Regions from separate parts of the Homo sapiens genome. Here region 2 is linked to region 1. Evidence: promoter capture Hi-C in 16 types of primary human blood cells and fetal thymus (Javierre and others, 2016). All regions are on one chromosome and are shown on one strand. The core of a region is centred on a gene start or on the middle of the fragment in contact, and the rest is flanking DNA. Distances in the headings are between cores, read along the strand shown. Region 1 holds the start of COX7B (cytochrome c oxidase subunit 7B). Region 2 has its middle 130 kb from the start of MAGEE1.

What was found. The method cuts DNA at HindIII sites, captures the fragments that hold promoters and counts their contacts. A CHiCAGO score of 5 or more calls a contact.
Region 2: a fragment that was not itself captured here is called in contact with the fragment with the promoter of COX7B in region 1 in 1 of 17 cell types (endothelial precursors); the score reaches 5.6 in endothelial precursors.

What each region holds. Positions count from the first base shown.
Region 1 is chrX:77,895,895-77,901,505 of GRCh38, reverse strand. COX7B (cytochrome c oxidase subunit 7B) reads right to left here and starts at 2,038. Exons shown (of 3, transcript NM_001866.3): 1 at 1,913-2,038. The coding sequence starts at 1,952. RefSeq lists an enhancer at 1,835-2,084. The HindIII fragment of the contact is 2,290 bases long and covers 34-2,323 here.
Region 2 is chrX:76,554,947-76,560,791 of GRCh38, reverse strand. No RefSeq gene overlaps it. Among named protein-coding and RNA genes, the nearest start is that of MAGEE1, 130 kb to the right of the region's middle. The HindIII fragment of the contact is 1,897 bases long and covers 752-2,648 here.

The DNA.
Region 1 (5,611 bases), core at 789-3,288:
GGGCTTGGGAAACAGCCGAGACTGGAAAAAGCTTGTTTCTAGCTGTTTTTTTTTTTCTTCCTGTCCAATTTAAGGGGCAGGTTCTTATCGTTTTAAAGAGCCTCCAAAGGTACTTACATATATAATGAAAAGCTAGGGAGCCTGAGGCAGGAGAATCACTTGAACCTAGGAGACGGAGATTGCAGTGAACCAAGATTGAGCCACTGCACTCCAGCCTGGGCAACAAGAGCGAAACTTTGTCTCAAAAAAAAAAAAAAGAAACTGCAATGTTGCCCATTCACTAGCAATGAATATTTCTACATGGTACAATGGGTTACTTCATGATAGTTATTAGACCATTATCAGATCTTCTAACTGTCTTACATAGCTTTCCCTTTTCATCTTTTAGTCACACCGGGATAGGCAAATTTACAAATATTTCATAATATATTCTGCTCCAGAAAAGATAAAAAGTGGGCATGTGAATTCCACGCTGAAAAAAAAACAAAAAACCTTTCCTGAGGTACAAGGTGGCCCTATTTGCTCAAAGAGCAAAGAAATTAAGACTACCAAAAAATTCTGCAACATCTCATAACTTCAACACACTCATGTAACTCTGGTGGATTTCATCAGACCTCTCCTCTGTGACAACTGTTTAATTACCACACATTGGTGATCTCATATAATCCTCAACAACCCCATGAAGTAGGCATTATTTACAAATTACTTATTTTACAAAGAAGGAAACTGAGGTTGAGAGAGGCTAAATCATATGCCCAAAGTAAAAGAGATAATAAATGCTACTTTGGGAATATGAAAATAGTCCAGCTAATATTTTGTGGTTATTTTCAAAGTTGCTTAAGAGTTTAGGACACAATCTAATAATATCCTCCAATGATTCTATTAAGTGAAAATCAAAAGATGGCTAAACAAACTAAATAGTAATTACGGGTCACCTTCATTGTGTAACAACTGCCCACGTTACTCAAGGTCACCTTCGGTGCAAATCAAGTATGAAAATTAATTTGTTCTCCTCAATCTATTGCATTTTCTCTACATAATGCTGGTCTCAAAACTCCCTGTACCTGCCCAACCTTTGGATAAGAAAAAAATGACCACGATTGCCTTCAGGACAGCTAACATTGTTTTGTTTTTGTTTTCGAGACGGAGTCCCGCTCTTGTTGCCCAGGCTGGAGTGCAGTAGCAGTCTTGGCTCACTGCAACCTCCGCCTCCCGGGTACAAGCGATTCTCTTGCCTCAGCCTCCCAAGTAGCTGGGATTACAGGCGCCCACCACCACGCCCGGCTAATTTTTGTATTTTTAGTAGGGACGGCGTTTCACTATGTTGGCCAGGCTGGTCTCGAACTCCTGACCTCAGGGGATCCGCCCGCCTTGGCCTCCCAAAGTGCTGGGATTACAAGTGTGAGCCACCGCGCCTGGCCAGCTAACATTGTTAATCCACAAATAACTTCAAAGCTGCATCGATACCATTTGGGTTGTTTCCCTGCAATTAAACCAGGTGAAGAGCTAGATTTACAGTTTCCGTCTATTACAGTAATAGGAATTGGAGAAGATATTTTTCTATACAGGGTTAGGAGTAAACATATCCCCAAAGCTAAAATGTAGGACATCACTTAAGGAACGAGGTGTCTACCAAGAATGTCCTTCCCTGAAATCAAAGGTTACTGAAGAATTAAAAAGCAGGGCTAGACTATCACTCCGATAACAGAAAGAGAGCTGGAAACCGAAACAGAAATACTGGGTGATAAAGCCAATGCTAAGGACATCATCCCAATGACTTGGGACGAGATGGGAGACAGACAGCATTCAAGATTAGAAGGCCGAGATGTTCGTAAAAGGAAAGCACACGAGAGGCCGCGAGGACACATTGATATAAGGTTGTTGTAAATGATTTGTCATAATTTTTGCTCACCTTGGAGACGATTTAGTGCGCTTTTGACCAAGGGAAACATCGTGAAGGTGAAGCTAGAACTGCGGCAATACAGCTGCTGCTTTGGTGCCAATTCGCTTCAGGTACCCTTGAAGTGAGCTGAAAAACAAAATGGCTTTCAGCCGGGATCCGTAATGAGATTTGACGAAATCTCGCGATACCTGTAAAACCTATAGTAATTGCAATCCCTTTTCCCGCGAGGAAAAATAAAGGCCTTTTGGGAAATGTAGTTTCCGGCTTTATAAAATGACGTATGGTGGGTGGTATCTAATGAAGAATGAAAGAACTCCTTGAAGCCAGGTTTAGAGCTCTATAGAGGGCAGCCGAGAGACAGATCTTCGACCGAATCGTCTAAGGAACTAGCTTCAAAATGGCGTTCAAGTTCCACAAGCTTCGGTTTAGTATCTCCACACTAGCTCTTTCTTCTTTCTGTTCCCCCAAAACTTCCTTTACTTCTCTCATTTTTTTTGTCTGCTATTACTACTATACTAATTGGCTTAGCTTTTAGTTTTCAAATAACGTCAAGTTTAGAGAAAAGTTGCAAGAACAGTAAAAACTTCTGTAATATGTAGATAAATACGTGATAAAATAACTTTGGAAAGCTATTGGCCGGGCGCGGTGGCTCACGCCTGTAATCCCAGCACTTTGAGAGGCCAAGGTGGGCGGATCACGAGGTCGGAGTTCGAGACCAGCCTGGCCAAGATGGTGAAACCCCGTCTCTACTAAAAATACAAAAATTAGCCGGCGTGGTGGCGCGCGCCTGTCATCCCAGCTACTCAGGAGGCTGAGGCAGAATAATCACTTGAACCCGGGAGGCGGAGGTTGCAGTGAGCCGAGAACGTGCCACTGGACTCCAGCCTGGGCGACAGAGCGAGACTACGTCTCAAAAAGAAAGAAAGAAAAGAAAGCTGTTAGGCCTGGCGCGGTGGCTCACGCCTGTAATCCCAGCACTTTGGGAGGCCGAGGTGGGCGGATCACGAGGTCAGGAGATCGAGACCATCCTGGCCAACATGGTGAAACCCCATCTCTACTAAAAATACCAACAATTAGCTGGGCGTGGTGGCATGTGCCTGTAATCCCAGCTACTCTGTAGACTGAGGCGGCAGAATCGCTTGAACCAGGGAGTCGGAGGTTGCAGTGAGCCAAGATACCACCACTGCACTCCAGCCTGGTGACAGAGCAAGACTCCGTCTCAAAAAAAAAAAAGAAAAGAAAAGAAAAGAAAAAAAAGAAAGAAAAGAAATGGCAACACGGCAAAACCCCGTCTCTACTAATATACAAAAAATTAGCTGGGCATGGTGGCACATGCTTCTAATCCCAGCTACTCGGGAGGCTGAGGCATGAGACTTGCTTGAACCGGGGAGGCGGAGGTTACAGTGAGCCAAGATCGCACCACTGCACTCTAGCCTGAGACCTGTCCCAAAACAAAAAAAATAAAATACATACAGTTCAGTGGCATTAATGGCATTCACATTGTTGTGCAACTATCACCATTATTCATCTCTAAGACTTTTTCATCGTGTAAAACTAAATGCTTTGATTATACATTTTGACTATTGAAAATATTAACATTATTCCAAAAGTCAAAACTAAACAGACTAGTGTACTTAGAGAAGTGTCATTCCCTCCCCTAACTGTTGCATTCCATTTCCACCAATTCCTATAGGTAACCGATTTCATTACTTTCTGGTTTATCTTGTGTGTTTCCTTTTGCAAAAATAGGCAAATACCTGTATGTTTTCTTATTTCTCTATTTTATACAAATGTAGCATAAAAATCCATTATCATTTTACATAAGTCTTCCTCATTCCTTTTTTACAGCTGCAAAATCTGTGGTGTATATGTGCTATAGTATATTCAGTCAATCTCCTATGTTGGAATATTTAGGTAGTTTCAAGAATATTTCAATTTCAATAATGCTGAAATGAATAACTTTGTGCACACATATTTTCATATTGCTGGATGTCTCTCTCCAAGGTAGGTTACTAGAAGTGGGATTGCTGGATTAAAGGATAAATATATGTGTAGTTTTTTTAGATATTGCCAAATTATAGATGTTGTAACGTTTTGCCTTCCCACCAGCAACGTATTAATATAAAGGGTGCCTGACTCCCCACAGCCTTGCTAATAGCATGTAGTGTCAAGCTTTTGGATTTTTGCCAATATGATAGGTAAGATATCCCTTTTAAACTTTAAAATTTTTATTTTTAAAACATACACATAGTAAAATTCACTTTTTGGTGTACAGTTCTATGCGTTTTGACAAATGCATACAATTGTGTCACCACCACCACAATTAAGGACAGAATAGCTCTAGCATCATAAAAACACCCTTGTTTGACCTCTTTGTGATCAACCCTTTTCCCTACCCCTAGCCCCTGGCAGCCACTAATCTGTTCTCTGTACCAATGAGTTTGCCTTTTCCAGAATGTCATATATAGATTGAATCATACAGTATGTCTCAGTGTACTTTTATTTTGCATTTTTTCTTTTTTCTTTCCTTTTTTTTTTTTTTTGAGATTGAGTTTCGCTCTTGTTGCCCAGGCTGGAGTGTGATAACACGATTTCAGCTCACTGCAAACTCCGCCTCCAGGGTTGAAGCGATTCTTCTGCCTCAGACTCCCATGTAGCTGGGATTACAGGCCTGCGCCACCACACCGGGCTAATTTTTAAATTTTTAGTAGAGACGGGGGTTTTGCCATGTTGGTCAGGCTGGTCTTGAACTCCTGACCTCAGGTGATCCACCCACTTCGACTTCCCAAAGTGCTGAGATTACAGGCATGAGCCATCGCACCCGGCCTGCATTTTCTTAATATAAGTTTCCATAAATGATTTAACTTTTTTTCACATCTGTATTTCACATCTCTTCACTTCGGAACCAGCTATTTTTCTTTCCATCCCATCTCCTTGTCTCTCCAACATACTGAAATTAATTTCCTGGTTTTTTTATCCAGTAGCGCCTAAAATAATAGTCATATAATATTTTCCACACCATCAAAATAAATCCAAATTGTAGGCAGATTGATTTTATCTTGTTGGTGTTTTCCTTCTTTACAACCTTACTTTTGTACCCATCCCCCAAACAAAATAATGAATAAAAAGAAGGAATTTGCTGTCTATAACCTGCAATTAAAGTCCTTGTTGGTGCTTTAAATATTAAGTCAAGGAGTTTAACTGAAAAAACAAACAAAAAAAGCCGGCCGGGCTTGGTGGCTCACGCCTGTAATCCCAGAACTTTGGGAGGCCGAGGCGGGCGGATCACCTGAGGTCAGGAGTTCGAGACCAGCCTGCCCAACATGGCGAAACCCCGTCTCTACTAAAATACAAAAAATTAGCCAGGCGTGATGGCGGGCGCCTGTAATCCCAGCTACTCGGGAGGCTGAGGCAGGAGAATCGCTTGAACCCGGGAGGCGTAGGTTGCAGTGAGCCGAGATGGCGCCACTGCACGCCAGCCTGGGCTACAAGAGCGAAATTCCATCTCAAAAAAAGCCATAAATAAACAAAAACTTTAAAAAATAATCTTTGATGTCCTCTTTTTTCAGCGCTCCTGGCAGTTTCTAGGACACAATAGGTATTCAACAAGCTCTTGTTCATATTTACCTTTAAAAATTTCCCTCAGTGGTATTAGGTATATTTTTGCTTTCCTACTTTTATTTTTTCACTTTGAAGTACTTTGGAGGC
Region 2 (5,845 bases), core at 451-2,950, 1.3 Mb after region 1:
CTTTTTTCAAGGTTTTTAGCTTCTTTGTGCTTGGATTTGAACTTCATCCTTTATCTCGGAGAAGTGTGATCATCTGAAGCCTTCTCTCAACTTGTCAAAGTGATTCTCTGTCCAGCATTTTTCCATTGCTGATGAGGAGCTGTGTTCCTTTTGAGGGGAGAGGCACTCTGATTTTTAGAATTTTCAGCTTTTCTGCTCTGTTTTTTCTCCATATTTGTGGTTTTATCTACATTTGGTCTTTGATTATGGTGACATACAGATGGGATTTTGGTGTGGATGTCCTTTCTGTTTGTTAGTTTTCCTTCTAACAGTCAGGACCCTCAGCTGCAGGTCTGTTGCTGTTTGCTGGAGGTCCACTCCAGACACTGTTTGCCTCAGTATCAGTAGTGGAGGCTGCAGAACAGCAAATATTGCTGAACAGCAAATGTTGCTGCCTGATCGTTCCTCTGCAAGCTTCATCTCAGAGGGGTACTGGGCCATGTGAGGTGTCTGTCTGCCCCTACTGCAGGATGCCTCCCAGTTAGGCTACTTGGGGTTCAGGGACCCACTTGAGGAGGCAGTCTGTCCGTTCTCAGATCTCAAACTCCGTGCTGGGAGTACCAATACTCTCTTCAAAGCTATCAGACAGGCAGATTTAAGTCTGCAGAGGTTTCTGCTGCCTTTTGTTCAGCTATGCCCTGCCCGCAGAGGTGGAGTCTAGAGAGGCAGGCAGGCCTCCTTGAGCTGCGGTGGGCTCCACCCAGTTCAAGCTTCCCAGTGGCTTTGTTTACCTACTCAAGCCTCAGCAATGGCATGCACACCTCCCCCAACCTCACTGCCACCTTGCCGTTCGATCTCAGACTGCTGTGCTAGCTATGAGTGAGGCTCCGTGGGCATGGGACCCTCCAAGCCAGGCACGGGATATAATCTCCTGGTGTGCCGTTTGCTAAGACTGTTGGAAAAGTGCAGTATTAAGGTTGGAGTGACCCAATTTTCCAGGTGCCATCTGTCACACCTTCCCTTGGCTAGGAAATGGAACTCCCTGACCCCTTGCACTTCCTGGGTGAGGTGATGCCTCACCCTGCTTTGGCTTATGCTCATTGGGTTGCACCCACTGTCCTGCACCCACTGTCCAACAAACCTCAGTGAGATGAACCTGGTACCTCAATTGGAAATGCAGAAATCACCCATCTTCTGTGTCACTCCTGCTGGGAGCTGTAGACTGGAGCTGTTCCTATTCGGCCATCTTGGAACCTCCTCCTATATTGGGATTTATCTCTGAGATGCAAGGAATGTGCAACATACAAAAATTGTCAATGTCGAGGGTTGTTGAACATAATGGTGGAGTAAAAGGCTGCGCTGAATGTCCTCACTGCAAAGAAACAAATTTGACAACTATCTACACACACACACACACACACACACACAACCTTCATAAAAACTAAGTTATTAGGTGAGCTTTCGTAGTACTAAGTTTTAACTTCATATCAATGAAAGAGGTACTAAAGAGGTAGCAAAACAGTCTTGAATTGCAAATGCCACATCTCCCTCAAACCCCAGCAGCAGTGGCATGGTGTAGAAAGGACTTCTGGACACTTTAGGAGAGAGAGATCAGCAATTTTGATGTGTTTAACTCAGTGCTGTGCTGTTAGAGCAAAAATGAAAACAGGATCAAACTCAGCTGACACCCACCCACAGAAGGAGCATATAAACAAGCCCTAACTAGAAAGAAATTACCAGATCCAGTGGTTAGAGCTTGAGTTTCGGAAAGCCTCACCACCGAGGGATAAAATACTCTGGGTCTCTAAGAAACCTGAAAGGCAGTCTAGACCATAGTTACTTCAACTCTTAGGTGAGCCCCATGGTTGAACTGAGCCCAGATACAGTGAACAAGGAGAGGGGTTACACAACCTAGTGGGGCACCAGCTGTGGCAGCTAAGAAAGTGATGGAAGTACCCTTTCCCTAGCCCCAGACGGCATAGCTTGTGGCTTCAAAAGAGATCTCTTCTTTTCACTTGAGGAGAGGAGAGGGAAGAGTGGGGGAGGACTTTGTCTTACATCTTGGATACAATCAGCCACAGCACAATAGTGCACTGGTCAGAGTTGTGAGGTTCTAGGCCCTAGTTCTTGGATTACATTTCTAGACAAATTGTGGCCCAGAGGGAAACCCAAAATCTTGAAGGAAAAACCCCATTTCTGGAAGCATTCATCACTTGCTAACTGAGGAGAACTTGGACCCTGAAAAACTAACAGCAATACATGGGCACTTCATTGAGGACCTTAAGTGAGCCTCTTAGACTTGCTGGTTTTAAGTGAGACTTAGTAGATTCTTAGTTGCTGTGACCATAGGGTAAAACTCTTTCTAATTGAGAAAAGTAGAGAAAAAAGTAAAGGGAACTTTGTCTTACAACTTAGGTACCAGCTTGGCTACAGGGGGTAGAGCACCACGTGGGCTCTTGGGGTATCTGATTCCAGGATTTGGATCTTGTCTGGCATTTCTGGACCTGCCCTGGGCCAGAGGGGAACACATTGCCCTGAAAACTGAATCCCAGGAAAAGCAGCCTTCATCACAAGCTGATATCAAAAGCCCTTGGGGCTTAAGAAAACATTGGCCATTGTCTGGCAGCTCTCCACATGGCCTGTGGTGGTGGTAGCTAAGAAGTGAAGCTTCTCTGCCTTTGGTAAACAGAGGAAAGAATGGGAAGAATTGCATCTTGTGTTTTGAGTGCCAGCTCAGGTTAAGTAAAACAGATCATCAGATAGGACTCTAATATTTTTCACTGTAGACCCTGACTACCAGAGAGCATCTCTGGACCAACTAAAGAAATGGGGGAACTCACTGCCCTGAAGGAAAAGACATAGGCCTGGTTGGCCTTGGCACCTACTGATTGTAGAGGCCCAGGACCTTGAGCAAACATAGAGAGTAGTCAGCAAGTGTTAACAGCATGCCTTGGTCAAGACACAGTGCTGTGCTGGCTTAAGGTCCAACTCAAAATTGTCATAGTGGTGGCGGCCACAGGGATGCTTATGTCATTTTACTCCCAGCTTAAAGTGGTTCAGAACTGAGAGAAAGACTACATTTTGGGGGGAGAAAATAAGGGAAGAGAACAAATATCTCTGCCTGGTAATCCAAATAATTCTCCTGGAACTTGTCCCAAATCATCATGATGGTACCTCTATGAGTCTGTATAACCACAATGTTACTGGACTTGGGTTACTCCCTAAAGCAGATACAGCTTAGATCACAATATTGTAGTCCTTTTGAATATCTGAAAAGTCATCTGAAAAAGGACAGATACAAACAATCCCATGCCATAAACACTATTATAAATACCTAACTCTTCAGTGGCCAGGCACCAAAGAACATCTACTAGCAGCATTGATACAGGAGATAGAAAGACATTATTTAGGCAGATAGTGAGGGCAAATGAGTATTCAGCAGAACTTCCCTTCTAGCTAAAAGCAGCTCAGAAAAATTTTTTTTTTCTAACAACAAAGAACAGCCTGAAAGATCGAGCTGCAAACATATATAAGAAAGCTGGAAGTTTACATGAGGAAATGCTGGCAGCTGTGCCATTAGAAAAGGGCTACCTGGAGGCCAGGCATGTCCACCATGGAAGTTTCACCTTCCTTTTTTTTGTTAGCACATGTACAATAAGAAGGAAATGGGAAACATGGAGAAGCTCAGGCAGAGAACCCAATTGCATAATAAAATATTGGCGTGAGGACTGCCAGAGATTCCCACCCTATGCAGATGGCACATCTGATTATGACCAGTTTTTCACACCCTGTGTAGATAAGACACCACCACCCCACTGGCTCATCTATAAAACAGCCTGCATTTAACAGTGGATCAGCAGCTCATTTTTCCAGGACCCCTCTCTGTAGTAGATAGCTATTATCTTCATTTTGTCTATTAAATTTCTGTTCTTAACCTCACTCTTTGTGTGTTTGCATCCTTGATCTTGTGGCCGTGAGACAATGAACCTCAGAAAAGAGATGAAATCCCCTCTGGGCCATGGTTTGTCTATAAATGTCACCCCAAATAATTAGGCAACTTCCTTGTGGGGGATTGCCAAGGACCCAATTTAGGTTCATTGAAAGAGTGAATATAGGAGCCGGGCCCAACTCTCTACTTTTACTTCCAGGGTCTCCTCTCCTCAATTTTAAAATCAAGCAAAAAATGAAAACAAAAAGCAAAAAACAAAAAAACAGGTATCAGTCAGCCACCTAGATGTGGTTAGTGCAGCTGTTGGTCTAAAGAAATAGATGGCAGGCTTGCTGGGGAGAACATAGCTTATTCCCCAGAACCCTCAGGGTGCTGTGAATGTTGGCTTTGTTTTGAACCAGTTTTCCTTCACAGAGAGCCTAGCCATTGCATAGGTCTGGAAGAGGTCTAGAGGCAAATGACAGTTTCTGGCCGGGGCCACACCCCAGTGTTAAGTGAAGGCTTCTGGACCAACTCGAGCTCCTCACAGCTCATTGGGCTTTGGCAACAGGATCTCCAAGCTTCACAATAAGATCTCTGAGCTTTTACTACTGCAATTTCCTTCTTTTATTTCAGTGACTGTGTCTCCTATCCCCTCTCTGTATGCAATGCTGTGGGAATTTTTACAGTTCAGAGAAATAATTCTGTTATACAGGATCAACAAATGCCATAGTAACTTGGAACACAGCTCAAGTGATTGACGTTTTTGTGATTTTCTAGGAAAAGAGTGCCCCCACATCCCCAGGAACATTTCTTTCTCTCTCTCTTTTGTCTAGAGAGCACATGGATACAAAGCTACTGCCTGGTATTTTAAGGTCTACAGCGCCACCTCGTGGAATATGAATCCTGTCCATGAGGGATCTTGTCAGTGCTGAAAACCTCTAGTTTCCCAATTCTCCCTTTTTATGCCCCTCTACTAGAGATCAGGCTTTATGCCTCTTCTGTGAATTGGGAAACTCAACAACGAGAAGAAAATTGTCCTCCATAACCACATTTATCCTCAATACTGTCTACATCTTCAGGAAAACAGCCATTTGGTCCCTAAGTTCTTTTAAGACAACTATTCTTCATCCAATTAAAATGGTACTCACATAGTAAGGTGATTTTATGTCTGGAAATTAACCAGACATAAATTTCCCTTACTAAATAAATCCAGGACATAATAGCAGAATATAGAGCTCAACTCAATAATTTTCCTCCATTAAGGGGTCTTGCCCAGATGTAATTGTTATGTAGTCTTTCTCAAAATCTACCTCTCAGGGAGCCATGCAGATCACACAAGTCTAGGAAATCGAAGGGAAATCACCAGTGGAGGACTAGAGTTGAATGGGGAAGCATGACTAATCCTACCTCCCAGCTCTTCCAGATTCATACTTGCGGGTCATCCCTGCATCCATTGTGGCACCTTTAATAGATGCTGGGGCCCAAGGAACCAAAGAGGAAAATCAACAGGGGAGATGCTCCCACTGTCTTTCCCTCCACCCTGGGCTATTCCAAAGTGAAGAAGGAGCAGAGGGTTGCCTCTCTATTTTTCTAGATGAGTAACAGACAATCTTTGGCCTGCACTTCTCTCAAGTGTGTTCTGAAGCACTGAAACTCCTTTGAACCCAAGACTTTGAAGACAAAGCAGCTTATTTCCTTTTGCACAAGGACGTGGCCTTCTTATCAACTTGGGGCTGAATAGACCTGTTCCAGTGAGAGAAGCCTTGATTTTAATACTATCCAACAATTAGATCTTTTCTGTAGACAGGACAGCAAATCATCCAAGGTCCCCTATGTAGAGGCTTTATTTGTCCTGTGAGACAACCCAGACCTTTGCAAGCTTACACAATTGACCCAACTCTTTTAGAAGTCATAGCAGGAAGGCCCAAATGGAAT